Regions from separate parts of the Homo sapiens genome. Here all the other regions are linked to region 1. Evidence: promoter capture Hi-C in 16 types of primary human blood cells and fetal thymus (Javierre and others, 2016). All regions are on one chromosome and are shown on one strand. The core of a region is centred on a gene start or on the middle of the fragment in contact, and the rest is flanking DNA. Distances in the headings are between cores, read along the strand shown. Region 1 holds the start of MYO3B-AS1 (MYO3B antisense RNA 1). Region 2 overlaps GAD1 (glutamate decarboxylase 1). Region 3 overlaps ERICH2 (glutamate rich 2). Region 4 overlaps UBR3 (ubiquitin protein ligase E3 component n-recognin 3). Region 5 holds the start of ERICH2-DT (ERICH2 divergent transcript). Region 6 holds the start of LINC01124 (long intergenic non-protein coding RNA 1124).

Region 1 (3,563 bases), core at 786-3,285:
GGCTATACCATTTGCATTCCCACCAAAAATGAAGGAGAGTTCCTTTTGCTCCACATCCTTGGCAGCATTTGGTATTGTCAGTGTTCCAGATTTTGGTCATTCCAATAGGTATGTAGTGGTATCTCATTGTTGAATCTTTTTATTTTATTGTCAAAAGTTATATGCAGTAGGAAGACTATGAGGAAATCCTGTCTATCCCAAACGAGTAAACAATAGTATCCTAGAACCAGCATGCATAAGCTTACTAGACATTACTGTTAACATTTTCAGGAATTCTGTGAGCTGGTTGATATCAGATTGATAGCTTGAAATTGGCTATGGTGGGAATATTTACACCATGAAAACGAGTAAACACTGAAAATCAGCCCCACTCCCACCCCTATCCGCAACCAGCCAGTTTAAACATTTACCAGTACACCACTGCTTATGTACTGGAAATCTTGGGAAAAACTGACTGCCTGATAATTCAAAAGCATGGTCATATAGATAGAAATCTCTTTTTACCAACCTTTTCCTCCAATGCTTTTTTTCCTCATTTCCTGTCTTCTGTTAGATTGATTAAATTTTCTGTAGACCCTTTCTTCTTTTGGTTTAGAAACTAGACATTGTTTTTCTATAGTTTTAACATATTTGCTTAACTACAAATTAGTTTAACATGTTTGCTTAACTGTCAATTTTCCTGTAGTTCTATCCCCTTTCTGAGTACAAAAACCTATGCGTGCCTAGGCCGGGCACGGTGGCTCACACCTGTAATCTCAGCATTTTGGGAGACCAAGGAGGGCGGGTCACCTGAGGTCAGGAGTTCGAGACCAGTCTGGCCAACACGGTGAAACCCCGTCTCTACTAAAAATACAAAAATCAGCCAGGTGTTGTGGCATGCACCTGCAACCCCAGCTACTCAGGAGGCTGAGGCAAGAGGATCGCTTGAACCTGGGAGGCGGAGGTTGCAGTGAGCCGAGATCATGCCACTGCACTCTAGCCTGGGCGACGGAGCGAGACTCCATCTCAAAAACAACAACAAAAAACCAAACAAAGAAAAACAACTTGTGCATGCCTAAATCACACACTGGATGCTGTCCCTGCCCCAACTGTATGATTAGAGTTAGTTTTTACGTATTTTATCCCAAATTGTTTTCCTTCTTACAGTTAGTAGTTATCTACATTAATCCTTCAGACTATTCCATGAATTTAGTTTCATTTCAAACGAATTTATGCTTCATTTGTTGTTTTGGTGGGTTGTCTTCCTCAGCTTTAGGTTTATTCAGGTGTTCTGAAATTTCAGTTGGCAGGCTCACTGAAAGGGTGAGGAGGAAGAGGATTTTGTTTTCTCTCTCCCTCTCACTTCCCCTTTGCCCACCCTCCTATTCTAGTAATGTTATGGTTATGTCTGCTTGGCTCTCTGGGTCTCTAGCCCAGAGCCAGGTTGTAGAATGGCATTTTGTGCTGCTGTCCCATGGTCTTATTGGGCATATGGAAGAGCCTATGACTGTGGCAGCCACAGGCCTGGCTGCTTATATATCCTTCTACCATCCTCAGCCAGAAGGTGGCTAAAAGTCATAGTCCTGGGTGATGGTCAGCATCACCCCAGACGATGGAGAATATGTGGAAGAAATTGCTACAGTTAGAGCACAGGATCACATAACCTCTCCCCTACCCCATTCTTTTTCCCAGACGCTTTTTATCAGCCTAAATGAACCACCTCATTTACTGGCTTCAAGTAGGAGTCTCAACTCTGAATCCTATCTTGTTTGGAGCCCTGTTAGTCTTTTTACTCACAGGAGTCACCACTGCTCTTGATACCTGCGGACCTGTGACTTCAGCCCAGCTGAGCACTTCATGAGCATTCCATTCTCATCCATCACAATGAACATTCTGAATATAACTAACTTCCTTCCTTCCTGCCTTCCTCCCTCCCTGCCTTCCCTTCCTTCCTGCCTTCCTTCTTCCTTCCTCCCTTTTTTCTTTTCTCCCTTCCTTCCTTCTTAATATGTTTTTGGCCTTTTCTTTATATATGTGGCCTAGCAATATCCTGTGTTTGGAAAAGTATAAACCTAAGGCATCACCTTTACAGAAAATATCTTCCACGGAAACATCTAAAGGCAAAAATCCTTCAAATTCAAATTTATCCAATCATTTCTTCTGCTTACTACCATCCTAAATCATTTTTCTTTAGTAAGATCTATTAGTGTGAAGCTATTAAGCTATTAATGTATGTATCATATTAATGTATTAAGACATTAAGGTACGTGGCCAAAATTAACATCTGTGAGACGTGCCCCTAATCTTTTTTCCCCCTGCCAACACCTTGATTTTAACCTAATTTTATTTTACAGTGAGGAAGTAAAGTTGCATTCACAGGCCTTGAACTTTTCCACATCTCGATTTTTACCCATCATCTCTGCATAGTTCCCTAAGGCAGCCTTCAAATGGTGATGTTTCTTATAATCCAGAGTTCAGAAGTGGCTTCTCTTCAATCTTTCTGTGGAATTCTAAACCACGTGATAAAGGAGCTGGTGGTGAGAAATAAGGGAAGGCAGAGATGAAAAGGAATGGGCAGAAGCTTTTGGAGAGGAATAACCACTGAGATTGCCATGAAGGATTCATTCTGACATTCTTTTCATGTATTTAAGGCAATCAAAAAAGAATCCACAGCTAACCACGTAGCTATCAATTTAACAATCCTATCATGTTTCTTCTTACAGTTAAAATTTCGGTTTTTGGGAGGTCGAGGCGGGCAGATCACTTGAGCCCACAAGTTGGAGATCAGCCTGGGCAACATGGCAAAACCCAGTCTCTACTAAACATACAGAAAATTAGCTGGGTGTGCACGTGCCTGTAATCCCAGCTACTTGGGAGGCTGAGGGAAGAGGATTGCTTCACCCTGGGAGGTTGAGATTGCAATGAGCCGAGATCGCGCCACTGCAATCCAGCCTGGGCAACAGAGCAAGACACTATCTCAAAGGAAAAAAAAATGTTCAGTTGTGTTCTGGGATACTGTGTGTATATTGAGAGAGGAAGGTGTATCTGACCACTTTTGCCACCCCTTATTCTCTTCCTTATCATTATGTTTGTCGTTTGGAGAGACTGTCCAAAGATCATGAGTTCTAACATCCAACTTCTATCTAGGTCCATTATATGAGGTGCATAATTTTTTTCTTTCTTTCTTTTTTTTTTTTTTTTGAGACAGGGTCTCATTCCATCGCTCAGGCTGGAGTGCAGTGGTGCAATCTCAGCTCACTGCAACATCCACCTCCCAGATTCCAGTGATCTCCTGCCTCAGCCTCCCAAGTAGCTGGGATTACAGGTGCCCACTACCATGCCCGGCTAATTTTTGCATTTTTAGTAAAGACAGGGTTTCACCATGTTGGCCAGGCTGGTCTCAAACTCCTGACCTCAAGTGATCCACCCACCTCGGCCTCCCAAAGTGCTGAGATTATAGGCATGAGCCACCACACCCGGCCATGAGGTGCATAATTTTAAGAGTATCACTTCCTCTAAAGAATTCGTGGTTCTTCAAAAGGAATGGATATTTACTGAGTTCCTGCCATGTTCTAGGAACTGTG
Region 2 (3,563 bases), core at 294-2,793, 500 kb before region 1:
GGAAAGCCAACACAGTGAGTCCCCCTCCGGGTGGCTCTGGAAGCTGCTCAAAAAACTGAGGCCTGCTGTCTGGTTCTTCCCAGAGTAGAATTCTAACAGCTCCTGAAAAACTCAAAAAGCAGCAGTTCCTGCTGGGTTTGGAGGTCTCACAACAACTTATGTAACAACAAGACATTTTTGTGGGTACCATGATGCATGTTTACTGAATAGTTGGGATGCCACGTGACACAGCCTTTGTTAGTCATTAGTTCAGTAGCAAGGCAGATGATCCTATTGGCCAATTGTGAGAAGTTAAATCCCTAAGAAAATGGGCAGAGAGAAAGAAAAAAAAAAATACACCCAGTCACACATGTGAAAATGCATCTTTTGTGTTCCTGGGAAGATTTGGGATTAAGTCTCTTAGTTGATAATGCCTTCCGTATACTGCCTTATTTTTCCTAAATGTAGCAGATATTCTTTTTCTTTTTTCTTTTTTTTTTTTTTTTGAGACAGAGTTTTGCTCTTTTGCCCAGGCTGGAGTGATGTGGCGTGATCCCAGCTCACTGCAACCTCCATCCCTAGGTTCAAGTGATTCTCCTGTCTCAGCCTCCAGAGTAGCTGGGATTATAGGCACATGCCACCACACCCAGCTAATTTTTGTATTTTTAGTAGAGACGGGGTTTCACCATGTTGGCAAGGCTGGTCTCAAACTCCTGACCTCAGGTGATCCACCTGCCTTGGCCGCCCAAAGTGCTGGCATTACAAGCGTGAGCCACCGCGCCCAGCCAGATATAACCTTTTTAAGAGACGTGTCATAGACGGCTGGACTGAAGGCAGGTAGCTGAGGGTTCACATTCATGGCCACTTTCTGTATGTTGTGTCTTCTATTTTTTCCCTCTGAAATCAGTTATATTTTATTCTGTAGCCACTTGTCCCAACAAAGCTACCTGGGAAGGCAATGAGACCATATTCTAGGATGAACCACAGAAGACAGCAATCGACTAGTAAGGAAGTGGATGAGTCCCAGAGGATGTTCCAGGTCTGTGGTGTGTACCAGTTGTGAATGGCTGGCTAGGGTCCAGACAAGAACTGGAACTAATGTGGTGTGGAGAGAGGGCTGGCTGGGGCGTGGGGAGAAGCTTGAGGCAAGTCATAAAAAAGAGGTGCCTCCACCCCCCACATGGACTGGCCTGAGTTATATAGCACTTACATCGACATGCAACCAAAGGTTATATTTCTCACATATATCTGCAATCTCTTGTATCGGATCAAAAGCTCCATAAACAGTCGTGCCAGCAGTTGCATTGACATAAAAGGGAACATATCCCTACAAGGTAAGACAGATATAGGCTGATGAGTATTTTTAACCTTTCTCATTTGCTGATTTTCACAGGAAGAAGAATTGTGTAACATTTATTTCTAACAGTAAATGGCAAAACTTATGTATTACCAGATACTATGTCTAGTAGTGTTTTGTTGGCTCATTCACTCATTCATTCATTTATTCAACAAACATTTTTTGATTGCCTTTTATGTGCCAGGCCCTGCCATAGATGCTAGGGACTCAGCAGTGAGCACAACAGATAAAGAATTCTGTCATTGCGGAGTTTACATTTTAGTGGCAGGTGACAGATAATAAGCTAAATTAAATAAGCAAAATATACAGTATGTTTAATAGCAATAATTTCTATGGCAAAAAATAAAGCAGGAAAGAGTAATAATAAGTGTTTGGAATGATGGTCAGATAGTTCTGAATATCACCTGTGCATCATTCTTTTAAGAGGCTGTGTTGTTTTAAGTGTATTGATATAATAATTATACTGAAACATTGTGGGGTTCAATTATTTAAAAAAGGTCTATACACTGTGAAAGCTGATACACTCACTAACAGTGGACGTGGTTAAATGTTGACATAAACAAAAAATAAACGAAGGAGTAGAGTAATAGATCTAAGACAAGTTTGGGGAAATCTGTGAATCTTAAGCTTTTCTTTTTTTCTGAGACAGGTTCTTGCTCTGTCACCTAGGCTGGAGTGCATTGGCACGATCATGGCTCACTTCAGCCTCTACCTCTCCAACTCAAGTAATCCTCCTACCTCACCTGAGTGGCTGGGACTATAGGCGTGCACCACCACACCTGGCTATTTTTTAAAATTTTTTACAGAGATGTGGGTTACCCTATGTTGCCCAGGCTGGTCTTGAATTCCTGGGCTCAAGGGATCCTCCTGCCTCAGCCTCCCAAAGTGCTGGGATTACAGGTGCGAGCCCCCATGCCCTGCCTCTTAGGCTTTTGTGAAGCTCAGCTCCACCTCTGCTCCTTGCTCAGTCTTTACAACACTTAGATCCACTTCCTGTGCCAAGACCCCAGCAAATAACTACAATTAGAGAAGGAGGTATAAGAATGTAACTGAAACAACCATGTGTTGGTAAGTGGCCTGACAGCTACCTGGCACTGACTTGTGGATACATCTGTTCTGTGAGTTTTTTTGTTTAATAGAGTTTGTTGAGGCTGGATGTGCCAAGTACCATGGGCCATCTGCCAGGGCATGGAAGCACTTTGCTAAACAGAATCCTAAGCTAAAATGGCATCTGTTAAAATGAGATAATACCCAACAAGTAGTAAATAAAAAGTTCAATTAGGCTATATCTTCATGATGCTCAGGGATTTGATTTATTGAAGAACATCAAACCAATCACTTGGCACAATGAAGATAGGACAAATAGTTTAATGACCAAATTTTTCATTTTTTAAAAAAACCCTGATATTGTGTAGACACAGCTTTAAAACCAAATTATTTTACTAGTTGGAAATAAGCAAATTTGAAGAATAGAATTTTAGAAGCACAAGAAAATTGTCTCATATTATCAAGGACTGTTTTTGTCTAGGACAGAAAGAAGGTATTTTAAAACTGGAGTTCAGATGCACCACGGAGTACATACCTTCTGTTTGGCTTCAAGAATTTTTGCCTCAAAATCAGCTGGAATTATTTTCCCCCTATAATTATTGGAAAAGGAGGGAAATTAAAATGAAGAGTCAATGAGATTGCACATGAAAAAAACTTTAGCAGCAGCAAAAAGCAATTTAATCGGATATTTTCAACAGACCATTAGCAGCTTGGCACAATGTACTGAGCCAGTCCTTAAGCACAATAAAACAAATTTAACAGATGAACACATTTAATACATCAAGAACCTAATATTCACCCTCCCCTGCCTACCTTTCATTGCACTTTATCAAAATCACATTGTCAGTTCCAAAGCCAAGTGCAGCCCCAGCTTTCTTTATGGAATAGTGACTCTGCAACAAACAGAGGCTCGAGGTTAGAAGTTGGAAAGTCCCCTAAAAAACACCACTATCCATGAGAAAGCATCCCCGACTCACCTGTTCTGAGGTGAAGAGGACCAGTTTAGGCACAGCCGCCATGCCCTTTGTCTTAACTTCCGGGAAGTACTTGTAGCGAGCAGCCATGATGCTGTACATGTTGGATATGGCGCCCCCTGTCAGCAAGCGGACATATTGGGAGGTGTTGGGGCTCTTTGATTATTGTTTCTAAAAACGAACGCTGAGCTGGTGTCTCAAGAGAC
Region 3 (3,563 bases), core at 514-3,013, 440 kb before region 1:
TGACTCTCATCTGTAATCCCATTGCTTTGGGAGGCCATGGCAGACAGATCACTTGAGCCTAGCAGTTCAAGACCAGCCTGGAGAATATGGCAAAACTCATCTCTACAAAAAATACAAAAATTAGTGGGTGTGGTGGTACACACCTGTAGTCCCAGCTACTAGGGAGGCTGAGGTGGGAGGATTGCCTGAGCTGGGAGATTGAGACTGCAGTGGCTGACATTGTGCCACTGCACTCCAGCCTGGGTGACAAAGCAAGACCCTGTCTCAAAAAAAATTCTATATTTGTGGGTCACCAAAAATAAGTTTGACTAAAATATTTTATTCAATGGCTCTAAAGGTCAAAAGTGCTTGAAAGGATTATTTACCTCAGATACAAGATAGGAAGTGTTGAAGTATTCAAGAAACCAATTTGTAAAATGAGCCAATGATCTAGAAGTACTCTATCCACAGTTGGGACTCTTGTGAGGCAAGCCAGGGCAGACCGTCACTCAATCCTTGTGCTACATTTTCACTTAAGGACTTTACTGTAAGAATGAATTTAAGTTTAACACTGCTTAATATTTTGAGTCTTGTTGTCAACAAGTTTAATTGTAGAGTTGCTATTTTCTCTTTTTTAACGTATTATCACTAATATGTTAGAAGAAAAAGATGCATAAAATAGTTGAAAAGATGATAGAGTTCAACAAAGAACCAGAATCTTTCCAGATCATTAAATGGAAATTCTAAAATTGGAAAAGACAACCTTGGACTCACTAAATAGTTTTAACAGCATATTGGATACAGCAGAAGATAGAATAAAGAAACCAAAAACAGGTAGATAGAAAATATTAAAACTGACACATAGAAATAAAAGAAAGAGAGCCAGGTGCTATGGCTCACCCTGTAATCCCAGCACTTTGGGAGGCTGAGGCAGGAGAATCACTTGAGGCCAAGAGTTCGAGACCAGCCTGGCCAACATGGTAAAACCCCCATCTCTACTAAAAATACAAAAATTAGCCAGGCATGGTGGCACAAGCCTGTAATCCCAGCTGCTTATGAGGCTGAAGCATAAGAATCACTTGAACTCAGGAGGCAGAGGTTGCAGTGAGCGGAGATTGCACCACTGTACTCTAGCCTCGGTGACAGAGCAAGAACCTGTCAAAAAAAAAAAAAAAAAAAAAGAAAGAAAGGAAAGAGAAGGAAGGAAGGAAGGAAAGAAAGAAAGAAAGGAAGGAAAACAAAACACACTAGAGCTGAGTATAAGATACACATGGGACATCATGAAAAAAAAGTCTAATTTGTGTGTAATTGGAGACCCAGGAAGAGAAGAGAGAGGATAGACTAGAAGTGGTATTTGAAAAGGTAATGGCCAAAAAATTTTCAAAGCTGATAGAAACATCAACCCACAGAGTTAAGAAACTCAGCAAATGCCCTGAACAGTACAACTGCAACAAAAAACCCACAACTATTTTGAACATCAAGTCAAACCATTAAAAACCAAAGATAAAAAGAAAAATAAGGTAGATCATATCATTGCTCTACTCAAAAGCCTCCAGTGGTTTTCCCACCTCAGGGAAAGAACAGAGCCTATGCAATCTGACAACCCCTTGCCTATGACGCCTCTGACTTCATTTCCTATCACACTTCTCCATGCTCATTCTGCTCCAGTTACACTGTCCTCCTCACTATTCCTTTCAGGCACACTCCTGTCATAGCACATTTGCCATTCATCCTCCCTGGCACACTCTGCCTCCAGATATTCATGTGGCTATTCCTCAAGTCTTTCAGTGAGGCCTTCCTGGGCCATCCTATTTAAAACTGCTTTGCCTTCCTCCAGTACCTTCTATTCCTTCTTCCCTACTTTATTTCTCACCATGGCACCTATCATTCATGACACACTATCTGTTTATTGTCTTTCTAACACTAGACACAAATGTGGGATTGTCATCTGTCTGACTGACTATTGTATTTCCAGTGCCTGGAACAGTGGCTGGCATGTGTAGGCACTCAATGTTTGTGGGATAAATGCATGCTCAGTTAAGGTTTGACTGCTGTGTCACCTGACACTTCTTTGAAACTAAAGGTATAAAGTTACTAACCCATCATCATGAGGGTAAAATTTTTGACTTATTTTCCAGTGATGGTAATTAGCCGATGCTAGTTTACATTAATTTATTCCACTAAAATGTACTCTAGAGATCTAAATTAGTACTTATACCAATCAACCTAATTTATTATCAAGGAATCACTGAGACACTATCAGGGAATTCACTAGACCTATGATAATCAAGCCATTTTATATATTACGGAATTCATTTTTGAAAACAAAGAGAAGATTAGAAAATATGAAAGTATTTTGTACTTACTCATCTGACATAATTTTTTTGCCAGCTGGTACTCTCGGGCCATTTCTGCTCTCAGAAACTGGAAAACATTAAATTCTTCAGATAAGTGAATTTAAATGTTGTCAACTCTAAACTCCCTAGAAAATCTTCCATTAATCATTAGTTATTTTGCTTTTAACACTTCCACATGTTTTTCCAGGAGTCAGTCTATAATGAATAGTGAATCAATTAATCAAGGAAATTGAAGTACCTCTGATGGCAAAGCCACATGGGGTAAGGATGATACCTCTGCTTTCCTGCAGCCATACTGTGTATGTACTACTGAACAATTTGAGAATATGTAGGTTGATTCAACTGGCACAGATAGTGAAGACATTAATCACTTTATTTTAATATTCCTTTGGTTCAGATACAGGTTTCATTTGTAACTTAGTCCATAATTATACGACAGTTGAAAAAAATGCAGATTTACAAAATGTACATTTGATATTTTCCAGCATTGCTCTTATATCATCCAGTTTTGTTTTTATTATTTTTATTATACTTTTCTTGTTACAAAATAATACATCTTTTTTTATGTAGGAAATTTAAAAGCTAAATACACACATTCTGTCCCCAATTAAGAAGCACTTAATTTCTACCATCTATGAAAAATAAACACATTTATTTTTAACATCTTCATGTATATTCTTTCAAGTATTATTTTCCATAAATTAACACATATGCATTTACAACATTTAAGATTATTTAGTAACTTAAAAAAAATAAACCATGGATTGTGATCATTTTCTCCTCATGGCATGAAATATTCTTACGTATTTTTTACTTACTTAGGCTACAATTTACTAAACTAATCTTCTATTATAGCTATTTAGACTGCTTCCATTAAAAAAATGCACAAAAAAATCCCCTATACTTTGATGATTGTTCTTGCTTGTGTGTGACACATTCTGAACCACATGCAGGTATATGAGTTTTATTCTGTAAGAGACAGAGGCATATAGTAATATGAAAGAGACCCTTCTCATATACTTCCAGATATTTGATAAATACCCAGACACTGTTTTCAGAAGTAGTTCTCTACCAGTTTTCTCAATTTCTCCCATGGGTTAAAAAAAATTTTATTTCTAATGTAAATATAACTCTTCCGGAGATTTTTCTATAAGTCATTAATTTCATCAAAATTCTCATTCACATACTAATTATTTATTTTATTTTATTTTTATTTTATTTTATTTA
Region 4 (3,563 bases), core at 386-2,885, 420 kb after region 1:
AGATTTTTTTCTCTCATTCTCTCTAGCAAAATTCTTAACATTTGAAAACATGGTAAGAAGCTTAAGCTTCTCCCTAACCATCCACTATAATTACAACCTTCTAGCACAAGACACTGTTAACCATTGTTAACCACTGTCCCTAGTTTCATGTAACAAGCTATTCATCTTAAAGTATCAGAAGTATGACTTAAAATTCTGAAGACAGTCCTTCACAAAGATCTTTATTAGTATTTCTAGAATCATTTATCGTCCTTTTTTTTTTTTTTTTTTTTTTTAAGACAGATTCTCGCTCTGTCACCCAGGCTGGAGTACAGTGGCGCGATCTCGGCTCACTGCAAGCTCCGCCTCCCAGGTTCACGCCATTCTCCTGCCTCAGCCTCCTGAGTTGCTGGGACTACAGGTGCCCGCCACCAAGCCCGGCTAATTTTTTGTATTTTTAGTAGAGACAGGGTTTCACCATGTTAGCCAGGATGGTCTCAATCTCCTGACCTCGTGATCCACCCACCTTGGCCTCCCAAAGTGCTGGGATTACAGGCGTGAGCCACTGCGCCCGGCCTTGATCGTCCTTCTCTTTAAAGTCTATTATTTTGCATAATTAACATGCCAAAGCTTTTATCAGAATTGCACAACCTTAGCAATGGAAGAAAACTTCAGTGATTAATTAGTCCAGTGGGCTTCAAACAGTGTTCCATGGAGCTGAATTACCACAGATGTATAACAGGGGCCACTTTAGGAGCAAGTAGATAGCAGGACAGAGAAGAAGCTAGGTTCACTACCCACACCCACTTTAACAGGAGTAAGCCAGCTTTTGTTGGTTTTATATTAATATGACAAATTCACTTAAGGCTTAGTCCCCGAAACCAGAGGCTTGTTTCAACCACTTTTAAAAGTTTAAAAACTTATTTTACAGATAAGAAGCCAAATCCAAAGATAAAAAAACTGGCTAGGCATGGCGGTTCACACCTGCAATCCCAGCACTTTAGGAGGCTGAGGCAGGAGGATTGCTTAAGCCCAACAGTCGAGACCAGCCTGGGCAACACAGCAAGGCCCTGTCTCTACAAAACACATGAAAATTAGCCAGCATGGTGGTGGGTGTCTATGGTCCCAGCTACTGGGGAAGCTGAGGTGGCAGGACCACTTGAGCCCAGTAGGTCAAGGGTGCAGTGAGCTATGATGGCGCCACTGCACTCCAGCCTGAGCGACAAAGTGAGGCTCTGTCTCCAAAAAAATAACAAAAAAAAAAACAACTAATTTCCTAAACCACACAACTAGCAAATATAATTCATATGGTATTTAAATATGACACTCAATTTCCTTGCTCTAATCTCCGAATGCCCAGTATTCCATCTCAGCATTGTTCAGAACAGTCATCTAAACAGCTTGTTTTAAAAAGCAGATTCCCAGATTTCACCCACAGAGATTCTGATGATAGCAGATAGGAGGTGAGACACAGGGGCCTGCATTCTTAATGAGGAGCGCAAGTGAGTCTGACAGAGATGTAATCGTCACATCACACTTTTATAAGCACTGCACTACACCACAGCACCACTCCACTCCCAAATTCATCTAATTTTACACACAAAATATCCTCTACACTAAAAAAATACTGTGCTTTTCTTTTAATGGAATACTTTCCAACCAGAGACTGGATTTTCTTGCTCCTTGTGAACTCCCTGAAAAATCCCAAATAAGGCTTTTCTGTTCTGCTTTGCCAAACACACACAGTACAGTGTATATTATTTACAACTTCAAAATGGGCATTGGTTTTTCATTTAGACAACGTGTTGAGGGAGTCAAGAAGCACGTAACTGCTACTTCCTTCAAAATTTTCACTTAGAGAAGTGAAAATATGAAAGTCAAACAAAAAAAGACTGTGTAAATCAAAACCTCACTTACTTCTGGCTGCTGTCAAGGATGTCAACTATGAATCTATGCGGGAGAAACCTTCCAAAACCAATCATCCACTTAAGGAAAACGTTCTGTGCATTTAACATAGGTTCAAAATGTAAGTAAGTGCTATCAGCATTCTATGTGGACTTTTTTTTTTTGAGATGGAGTTTCACTCTTGTTGCCTAGGCTGGAGTGCAGTGGCCACGATAGGGTCTCACTATAACCTCCACCTCCTGGGTTCAAGTGATTCTCCTGCCTCAGCCTCCCGAGTAGCTGGGATTACAGGCACCTGCCACCATGCCTGACTAATTTTTTTGCATTTTTAATAGAGACGGGTTTCATCATGTTGGCCAGGATGGTCTCGAACTCCTGACCTCAGGTGATCCAGCCACCTCGGCCTCCCAAAGTGCTGGGATTACAGGCATAAGCCACCACACCCGGCCTATACAGACTTTAATTTGAACTATTTCAAGTTAAAATTTGGGTCGTGAGGATTCTTTTGCTGTTTCAAAATCAAATTTGGAGAGTAAATACATTCAAAATATTTTTTAATATACATTTTGTTTTATAGTTTCTGGTTCATTTATGGTTATGATCACTTATAAAAATGAATTAGAGTTCAAATATAAATTTCCTTTATAGTTTAGAGTCATCTAAGAAGTCTTAGTGTAACATAAAGCTATAGATTTCTAAGTAATTGAAAGCAGTATCACTGTTTACCAATAAAGACATACATTTATAACAAAATGGAGAAAAGAAAACCAAAGCTTGAACGAATAAAAGGTAAACATTTTCTTTTAATACACAGAAGAATTCACCATTCAAGAACTGATATTTGAAAGAGTCCATTTATGTATATAAACATACCTTTGGGAGTATACATGCCTTGTTGCATAGAACCTCCAGGTTCAAAAACAGGAGCCTTAAAATCAGCTACAGCTGATAAAACTGATTCAAAGCTGTAACTGCCTGGAATAATGCCACTTTTGGGATTAGGATTTTCTGGAATATGATATATATGTCAAGAAAAAAATATTAGTAACAAAAAGCCAGATTTATAGCCTTTCCAAGGTACTCTAGTTTCTCATTTTGCTGAAGTAGACAAATAGTAATTGGTTGTAATATACAAAGCTGGCCACAAGAGGGCTATATAATACAACAGATCAATAATAACTGTTTTTAATTGTGATTTTTGAAAATATGTTTAATCTAGGAGCCTACTAATAAATTGTATGCTGCAGTAGTTCCCAGGTATATTTTCCCCGAAATAAATTTATCAAATTTCAGAAAACGATAGAAAAACTTTTAAAAATGTGTCTTCATTTTTACCATTTTGTAAATAACTTTTCCTTAAAAAACAGAAAGAACTTGTGAAAAATTAGCCAAGATTTTTATGAGCAAAGATTGTTTTTCCAAAAACACAAAATTTCATCCCCAAAGAAAAAAATACTAAGCAAATATAAGCAAAGAGGCAAACCAAAAAGATTCTCTCCTCACATTAAAGCACATAAATCTTTAAAATTGAAAGACACAGAGATCGTTTTTACTCTATAATAGCACTGACACATAGTTCATAATGACTGAAGGAAATCATCAGACAGTATCAAATTGAGGCTGCTTACAAAAATCAAGGTTGTCAAACAGGCATTCTAATAGGACTTATTTCACAAAAT
Region 5 (3,563 bases), core at 1,064-3,563, 420 kb before region 1:
GATTATCTCTGAGGGCTTTTAATTAATTTTAAAAACTACCTAAAGTACTGATACTTGTTTAGAAAGATCACTGACTCCAGGGAAAAAGCAGACTAATTTAGAACACAGATAAAGGTGTTTCTTTTAACAGTCCTTGTGGCAATGGGAACAGCACAGTTTATGATAGTTCCAAATTTTCATGCACTATTCAATGTCTATTTAAAACAGGTATTTGGGTCAGGTGTCGTGGCTCACACCTGTAATCCCAACACTTTGGGAGGTCGAGGCCAGAGGATAGCTTGAGGATGGGAGGTCGACACCAGCCTGGGGAACACAGCAAAACTCTGCCTCTATAAAAAATTAATTAGCCAGGCATGGTGGTGTATGCCTGTAGTCTCAGCTACTCAAGAGGCTGAGGTAGGAGGATGGCTTGAGCCCAGGAGCTTGAGGTTACAATGAGCTATGATTGTGCCACTGTACTCCAGCCTGGGCAAGAGAGTGGGACTCTGTCTCTAAAAAAAAAGACAATAATAATACAATACCAGACATTTGATGAGCACCTACTACATGTCACATATAACTATGCTAAACTCTGGGGACACAAAGATGAAGATACTCTACTTTGAGAAGTTCAGAATCTTATAGGTGAAACGGGTACTAACTTCTTATATGTATGTCACAGAGCAAGCTTCAAAATACTATAACAAATGCTTCCCTTTAAGGGGCTACAATGTAATTTCCCATACTGCCCAAACTGAGGAATAGTGATTACCAGGACCAATCAAATTCTTTCTTTTGGGCTCAAGGACTGGAGATACCTAAGGAAGTCAGCAGGCAGTGGAGGCAGAACTGGAAGGACAGAGGTGAAATTGCCTTTGCAAAGATTATAACAGTGAGAAAATTATGACAGTGACACAGATCTGACTTAACTGATGCCATCTTGCTTCTAACCTCCTAGCTGCCCTTGTTCTTTCCTAGGTATAGGCTAAACTAACTTTGGGAAGAAATCAGTTTACAGTTAACACTGAAACAAAGATGATAACCACCCTTTCCCAAAGCAAACCCTCTTCTTGCCTGGGGACCAGACTGCCTTTACAGGATTAACAAATTAGCCACGAGATTCAGAAATTGTAGTTTAGGAGTCATGCAACCAGAGGCCACAAGATTCTGAACCTCCCCAGTTGGTATTATTTGGACTCCACACTCCACAGACTTCAGGAAAAACAAAACAAAACAAAAAAACAAAAACACCTTTTATAAAATGAATTACCAACATTTAAAATTCAGATTTCAAAAAATTTTTATTTTAGATTTCTCTTGTAATATTGGAAGACATTACATGTTTTTCTTCATCCCACTTATGCAATTATTTTACTGTTTTGTGCTACTGGTTTTTATAAGCTACCTTGTAGTCTAATAGGCAAAGACAGAATGAATAAATAGCTAGCTAGCTACACACTCAAGCCCTGCAACTCTGGTGAGAAGGAGAGACAGAGCTGATTAAGCACTATCCTCTATCCTCAGGGAGCTTGGTGGGGGAAACATTACATGATGCAGGAACAATATTTCATGGCATAGCTTCAAATGTGTATACAAATGGTGTCAAGGATCATCCATCACTTACATTCATTTTTTAAACTGACTAAATATAAATTTTATATATTTCCTTTACAGTGTAATATAGTGCTAGGATTCCAGACTCTGGAGTCAGGTTGTCTATGTTTAAATCCCAGTAAACTGTGTGACCTTGAGCAAATTCCTTAACCTCTCTGTGATTCAGTTCCTCAACTGTAAAGTGTGGATAAAAACACCACCTACCTTATAGAGTTAAATTGCAAAGGTTAAAATAATTAGCTACCAATAAATAATAATAGTAGCACTCATCTCCTGCCAGAACTGCAGTTACTATAACTCCTCCTCCTATACTATTGTTAATATTTACAGCTCAGGGAGGCCAGTCCTGAAGGTGAACTGTCACAAATGAAGCCAGTTCTAAACGCCGAAACTGGATGGGGCAAAGAAGGGAGAAAACACTGAGGATGTGGCTCAACCGGTGAGCGTAGGTAGAAAGCTCTGGAATTCTGGAGTGGGTGCAATGAAATACCTAGAGATGCTGGAATTTCAGCTCTGGAAAACTCTTAACACGTAAAGAGAAATGTTATTGTTATTATTGTTCTCCAGAGATTACAAAAACCAAAACTATTTCAATTCACAAAAAACAAAATAAAAATTAAAAAATAAGTTGGATTTGGGGATCATTGTATTTGGTTTTTAGAAAAATGAAACATATTAAAAGACATTTCCGGTGTCCTTTTCAGATTTTTAAAAAGCGACTTCCAGGGGTTCTCCTAGGGTAAAAATAAGATTCAGCCAAGACACCTATGCCAAACAATAAATTGATCATTATACCATGTGTTACTTTAAATGCCACAGGGGCTCAGTGTAGAGTAGTTTGAGTAGTCAAAAGAACAATATCAACATTTTGGAAGTTTCAAGTCAATTTCATCATCTCATAAGATGAGAATAAGGCCCGGGAATATAAATGATTTGTCCAAATTCCATCGAAATTTGTATGGCTAGCAAGTTATATCTAGCTAGTAGTGATGTCTTAACTAATTTTCCAAAAATAAGTAAAAGAATTCCGGGCAAGGGCAAGGACTGAGGGAAGGGGGTCGGGAAGCCCTGGGATGGGCTGGGCCATCTTCGTTATTTGCGGGGAAGGAGTTGGTGCGTGTGCACCGGCCGGTCAAAGAATGGTAGTGTAGACAAGCCTGTCAGAATCGCCCAGTTATCTCCACACCCGTGTAGACACGAACGGCGCTTCCTCACCTCTTCCGACCACTGCGGGAGGAGGGTGCCGCAAGCCAGGCGCACCCCAGTGGCGCGCATCCTCCCTTCCCGGCGGCCCCTGGCAGCCACGGGGCCCGGGGCCCAGAGCCAGAACCAGGTGCGGTAGAGCGGTCCGCAGACTCGGGCGCCCGGTCTGGGGGTGGTCTGCTGTGGGGGCTGGGTCAGACTGCACACCGGGCTAGGGAGAGGGAGACCGGTCGTTGCCTCGGAGTGTCTTACCAGCTGGCGGCCCTCTTCAGCAGACCATCCGAAGGGCACACACCGAGAGCCAGCCCGGCTAGCTGCTCGCGCGGAGCTGGGGGCTCCGAGTCGGGAACGCAGCGTCGCCGTGGAGACTGCACGGCGCGTGGAGGAAGCTCGGGCAGCAGCCGAGGGTGGGGGCTGGGGGAATTGGGCGACGGCGGGGGAGGTGGCGGGGGCGGGGGCGGGGGCAGGGGCAGCCCGGGGAACCACGGAGAGGCAGGGTGGAGGCGGGCCCAGGCCGTAGGGCGGTGGAGGGCGCGGGACGGAGCGGGCGCGGCGAGGAGGGCCCGGGGCGGGGCTGGGAGGCGGGTCCGGGGGGGCGGGGCGGGGCGGGCGGCCGAGCTGAGGGACAGCCCCGCGGTTGTGGGTGTCCCGCGGCGCCGGAAACTGGGCGCACACACCCTCGGATTGACGTGCGCACGCGCACCGGTTACCTTCAGGAGCGCCGAAGAAGGAAAGAAGGTTGGAATGTCGGTGTCCATACCTGATTC
Region 6 (3,563 bases), core at 519-3,018, 360 kb before region 1:
TGCGGCTACAGGTGGCGGCCAGCAATGCCAGGGGCGAGTGCTTGCCCAGGTCCGGGGAGGCGCTGGGGGTGCGGTCCTGCATAGGCGGCGAGGGAGGGCGGAGAAGAGACAAAAGGTTAGCTCCAAGCGCGGACTCCGGGCCAGCCCGCCGCCCCCACGCCCGCTATTATACCGCCGCCCCTCCTCCGTCCCGGCCGTCCCTCCCCCGCCACCGCACCCCACGCACGCACCCACCGGCCGAGGGAAACTTTTGGTGCCTGCGCTACCTGAACGTGGGGCCCGCGAGCGCTTCTTGCTAAACTACTTGGTGCACTGAGACGCCATCCAGCCTTAGAGGAAGCAGGCGCGAAGTGGGAGGGGGAGGCATCCGACGGGCCCCTCCCGGCTCCGTGGTCAGTAAGAGTCGGGAAACACCCACAACCCCGCCGGCCGGCCGCTCTCCCTCCCATCTTTTAAGCTCTCTTGTCCTCACTGCCTTCGCGCTCCTCCCTGGCCCGCCCCAGGCTGAAATCAGCAGGAGGGCCCAGCAGGGTGAGCTCCGGTCCTGTTCTCGGCCAGCCGGGCACCTCCGAACAATCCCGGATCCACGCGTCCCTCCAGCAAAGGCCACACCGGATTAGGTGTGAAGTTGGCGTGGGCACCCCTAGGCCTGGCTCCAGCTGCACCCATCGGCGGGGTTCCCTTTGAGGTTCAAGGTGCACGGAGTACCAGGAGAGATCCGGACACGGCCCTTTCCACCTTTCTCCCGCCCCCTCCGGGCTCGGCCCTGACCTGGAGAAAGGCCTGCAGCGAGTCGTTCCGGAGGACGGCCACCGCGGCCATGGCTACGGCTTGCAGGCCCCTGGCTGCGGAGCGGGACGCCGCCGCCGAGGCATGGACACCCGAAGGCGAGGACGAAGGGCCGCCCAGCCTGCCTCCCTGGCGCCTGCTCTGAGCGCCGGGGCCCTCCCCGCCCTTGCCCCTCGCCGCGCCCCGCTCGCTCGCCCCGCGCGCGGTCTGAGCGCTTCAGGATCACCTCCAAGAATTTGATAAGGACTTTGCTGGGCCGCCAGCCAGTCAGAGGGAAGATTTATGGCTTTGAAGTTTGCCGCTACCCAATCATCAAAGAATAGCGGCTCTTTCAGAAGCGAAAGCAAATCCTTTGAATCCACAAAGCTCCTATGGTGTGTTTGTTGGTCTGGATAAAAGAACTGATTATTAGGGGGGATGGGAAGGGAGGAGATAAAGGCGGGACAATTAATGAAGTAATCACTATGTGGGAAATGTATATACACAAATAATTGGATTTTCCTGATCAAAGGGGGCCTTGCCGCCTGGAGACCCGCGCTTGGGTTGCTCGAGACACTCTTCCCGCCCCCCCCAACATACACACACACACACACACACACACTTGCAATTAAAGATTTGCACCGACGCAGCGCCCAAAGTGACAAAGTGTCTTTGTTATCTCTGGAAAAATCTGCCTTCGGCTTCCAGGCGCCGGACTTTGAGACGGCAAAGAGTGTAACTCTCCCCTGTATTTACTTGCACACCCTGCACCCTCGCCGCACACGCACCCGCCCGCGCACACAGCGGACCCAAGCGAGATCCCCGGTGGGGCGTGGGACCGACAGCGCCCGGCCCGCCGCGTGTCCCCCGCCCGCCGCGGTGGGGCCGAGGGCAGGGCTGTGACCTGGGGCGGGGCCGGGCGGCCGCCCAGCGCGGCGTTGGGTGGCGCGCACGCTCCAGGGCCGCCCGCCTGACGAGCGACCGGGGCTCTCCTGTGACGTTCCTGCTGGCGACCTGGAAGTTTTCCTCAGGCCACAACTTTTGCAGAGTGGACCTGGGAAAAACACCCGCGCCGCGCATACCCTCAAAGCTGAGCTCGGCAGGACACCCAAGGCGACCCGTCATGCCCACCCGAGGGGAAGAAGCTGTGCTGTCCCGCCCCCTTCTCCCCAGGCCACCCAGGAGGCCCGGGCTGGGCTGTGGGGGGCCGAAAGCCCCAGCGCTGCTGGTGATTTCTCGCCCGGAGCCCCGCCAAGCCAGCGCGCCCTCTCGCAAGCCTGGCAGACCAGGAGCTACTGGAAAAAAGGCGCGGTCGAGGAAGCCTGGTTGTTGTGGTCCCACAAACCACAAATCATACGAGAGAGGATCCCGAAGGCGGGAGAAAAGTCAGTACAGACTTGTTCCTGCCACCTTTGGAAAGAAAAAGTTCCTCACCAGGCGCGGGGCGTGCTTTGCTCTGGGCAGGGTCGCGCTTGCAGGGGCTTGGGTGACCCCCATCCCTCCCTGGCGGCTCACCTCCTGCCGAGGAGGGCCACCTGCCTCCTCCTGGCCCAGGGCGCAGGGCGCGTCCTGCCCCGGCACTGCGGACGCGGGGATCGCCTCTCCCGGGCGCGCGGGCGGGGAAGGAGGAAGAGGCGGGCGGGGAACCGCGGGGTGCTCACCGCCCTGGGGCATTAGGGGTGCGGAACCGCGTTGGAGGCCTCGCGGCCCCGGCTCGCGAGAGCGCACTGCGGAGTGGCCGCCGGAGCTCGGCCTACTCCTCTCCCCCACCCACCTCCCGTCGGACACAGTCTCCACTCTCCAGGCCGCCGGCCGTGGGGGAGCCCCTAATCAGTTCGCGCCCGGCCTCTCTGCCCGTCTTCCTCACGGGAACCGCACTGCGACCGGGACGGACGGGGTGACCTATCTCCCGATGCAGCGTCAGAGGTTAGCCTAACTACAACGGACTCGGAATCTGGACTGTATAAGGATGCCCTCCGCACTTCCATCAGGGGTCGGGGATGCGATGCCTCCGGGCCCACCTTCTCCCACGCCCAGGGCGCGCCTGCGGAATGAGAATATCGTACTCAAGACGGGTGGGCTGCTTGCGACCCAAATACAATGGGTCCCTCGCACATCCTGCACTCGCACGCCCCCTTCTCCCCCAACGAGTTGTCCCCTCTAAAACGCGAGCGGCGACCACACAACTTGGCCGACCCGATCTGGCTTCTGAAGATGAGGTCGGCTGCTCTGGGAGCGGAGAAGGGGAGAGAGCTTAGTGGTTTCATCCGAGGCCTGGCCAACCTGCTCCTTCCCACGCTCCCGTCCAGGATTTGAGTCTTGGAGAAGCGTGAGACTCGAGGGAGCTCTTCCCTGGATGCAAGTCGGAGGCCAGGGAGCCCCTTGGCACACACTCGCGCCTGCACATGCTTGCACCCTCGAAGCGATCTGGTTCCTTAGCGCTGGTTTCCTTTCCAGCTTCTTTGAGATCTTCGAAGTCCCCTTTCCCAGGGAGGCGGGCAGGGCCGGGCTAAGCAGGATGGAAGGCAGCCCTTTTTATTGAATCTGATAGCTACTTTCCCAAAAAGGCCAGAAAAGCCATTTCACATCCCCATAGTTATGGGAATTAGCTTTTTCTCCAAGATGCCCCCATTAGCCAGTTAAACCATCAGTGGGCCAACAGGGTCAAAGTTAGTGGCTTGGTGGTTGAAAGCTCGGAGTCCGAACTCTCTGAAGACATTTTTCCCGCCTTGCCACTTTCTAGTTGGTGACCTTGGCAAGCAAGGTACTCAGCCGCTGTGTACCTCAGTTTTGCG

The links. Contacts are between HindIII fragments. The CHiCAGO score rates a contact against its expected background, and 5 or more counts as called.
Region 2: a contact is called between a fragment that was not itself captured here and the fragment with the promoter of MYO3B-AS1 in region 1, in 15 of 17 cell types (M1 macrophages, M2 macrophages, M0 macrophages and 12 more). The highest score is 12.1, in M1 macrophages.
Region 3: a fragment that was not itself captured here is called in contact with the fragment with the promoter of MYO3B-AS1 in region 1 in 16 of 17 cell types (M2 macrophages, M1 macrophages, total CD4 T cells and 13 more); the score reaches 16.1 in M2 macrophages.
Region 4: a fragment that was not itself captured here is called in contact with the fragment with the promoter of MYO3B-AS1 in region 1 in 2 of 17 cell types (endothelial precursors and megakaryocytes); the score reaches 5.2 in endothelial precursors.
Region 5: a contact is called between a fragment that was not itself captured here and the fragment with the promoter of MYO3B-AS1 in region 1, in 5 of 17 cell types (fetal thymus, naive CD4 T cells, total CD8 T cells and 2 more). The highest score is 6.9, in fetal thymus.
Region 6: a contact is called between the fragment with the promoter of LINC01124 here and the fragment with the promoter of MYO3B-AS1 in region 1, in 2 of 17 cell types (endothelial precursors and erythroblasts). The highest score is 5.4, in endothelial precursors.

Annotation. Positions count from the first base shown.
Region 1 is chr2:170,349,415-170,352,977 of GRCh38, reverse strand. MYO3B-AS1 (MYO3B antisense RNA 1) reads left to right here and starts at 2,035. Exons shown (of 4, transcript NR_110576.1): 1 at 2,035-2,099. The region is part of intron 8 of MYO3B (myosin IIIB); the gene reads right to left. The HindIII fragment of the contact is 2,320 bases long and covers 243-2,562 here.
Region 2 is chr2:170,845,419-170,848,981 of GRCh38, reverse strand. GAD1 (glutamate decarboxylase 1) reads right to left here. Exons shown (of 17, transcript NM_000817.3): 8 at 3,361-3,476; 9 at 3,197-3,276; 10 at 2,919-2,973; 11 at 1,190-1,306. Among named protein-coding and RNA genes, the nearest start is that of GAD1-AS1, 29 kb to the right of the region's middle. The HindIII fragment of the contact is 845 bases long and covers 1,121-1,965 here.
Region 3 is chr2:170,791,703-170,795,265 of GRCh38, reverse strand. ERICH2 (glutamate rich 2) reads right to left here. Exons shown (of 10, transcript NM_001290030.2): 8 at 2,346-2,403. Among named protein-coding and RNA genes, the nearest start is that of ERICH2-DT, 23 kb to the right of the region's middle. The HindIII fragment of the contact is 5,215 bases long and covers 1-3,563 here.
Region 4 is chr2:169,928,063-169,931,625 of GRCh38, reverse strand. UBR3 (ubiquitin protein ligase E3 component n-recognin 3) reads right to left here. Exons shown (of 39, transcript NM_172070.4): 18 at 2,758-2,899. Among named protein-coding and RNA genes, the nearest start is that of UBR3, 100 kb to the right of the region's middle. The HindIII fragment of the contact is 2,048 bases long and covers 612-2,659 here.
Region 5 is chr2:170,770,673-170,774,235 of GRCh38, reverse strand. ERICH2 (glutamate rich 2) reads right to left here. Exons shown (of 10, transcript NM_001290030.2): 1 at 3,049-3,563. The coding sequence starts at 3,554. It overlaps ERICH2-DT (ERICH2 divergent transcript), which reads left to right and starts at 3,470. Exons shown (of 6, transcript NR_110185.1): 1 at 3,470-3,534. RefSeq lists silencers at 2,761-2,900, 3,221-3,280. The HindIII fragment of the contact is 3,287 bases long and covers 670-3,563 here.
Region 6 is chr2:170,712,772-170,716,334 of GRCh38, reverse strand. LINC01124 (long intergenic non-protein coding RNA 1124) reads left to right here and starts at 1,768. Exons shown (of 1, transcript NR_027433.1): 1 at 1,768-3,563. It overlaps SP5 (Sp5 transcription factor), which reads right to left and starts at 998. Exons shown (of 2, transcript NM_001003845.3): 1 at 772-998; 2 at 1-76. The coding sequence starts at 822. The region is part of intron 5 of ERICH2-DT (ERICH2 divergent transcript); the gene reads left to right. RefSeq lists enhancers at 1-624, 625-1,414 and a silencer at 1,632-1,681. The HindIII fragment of the contact is 7,273 bases long and covers 1-3,563 here.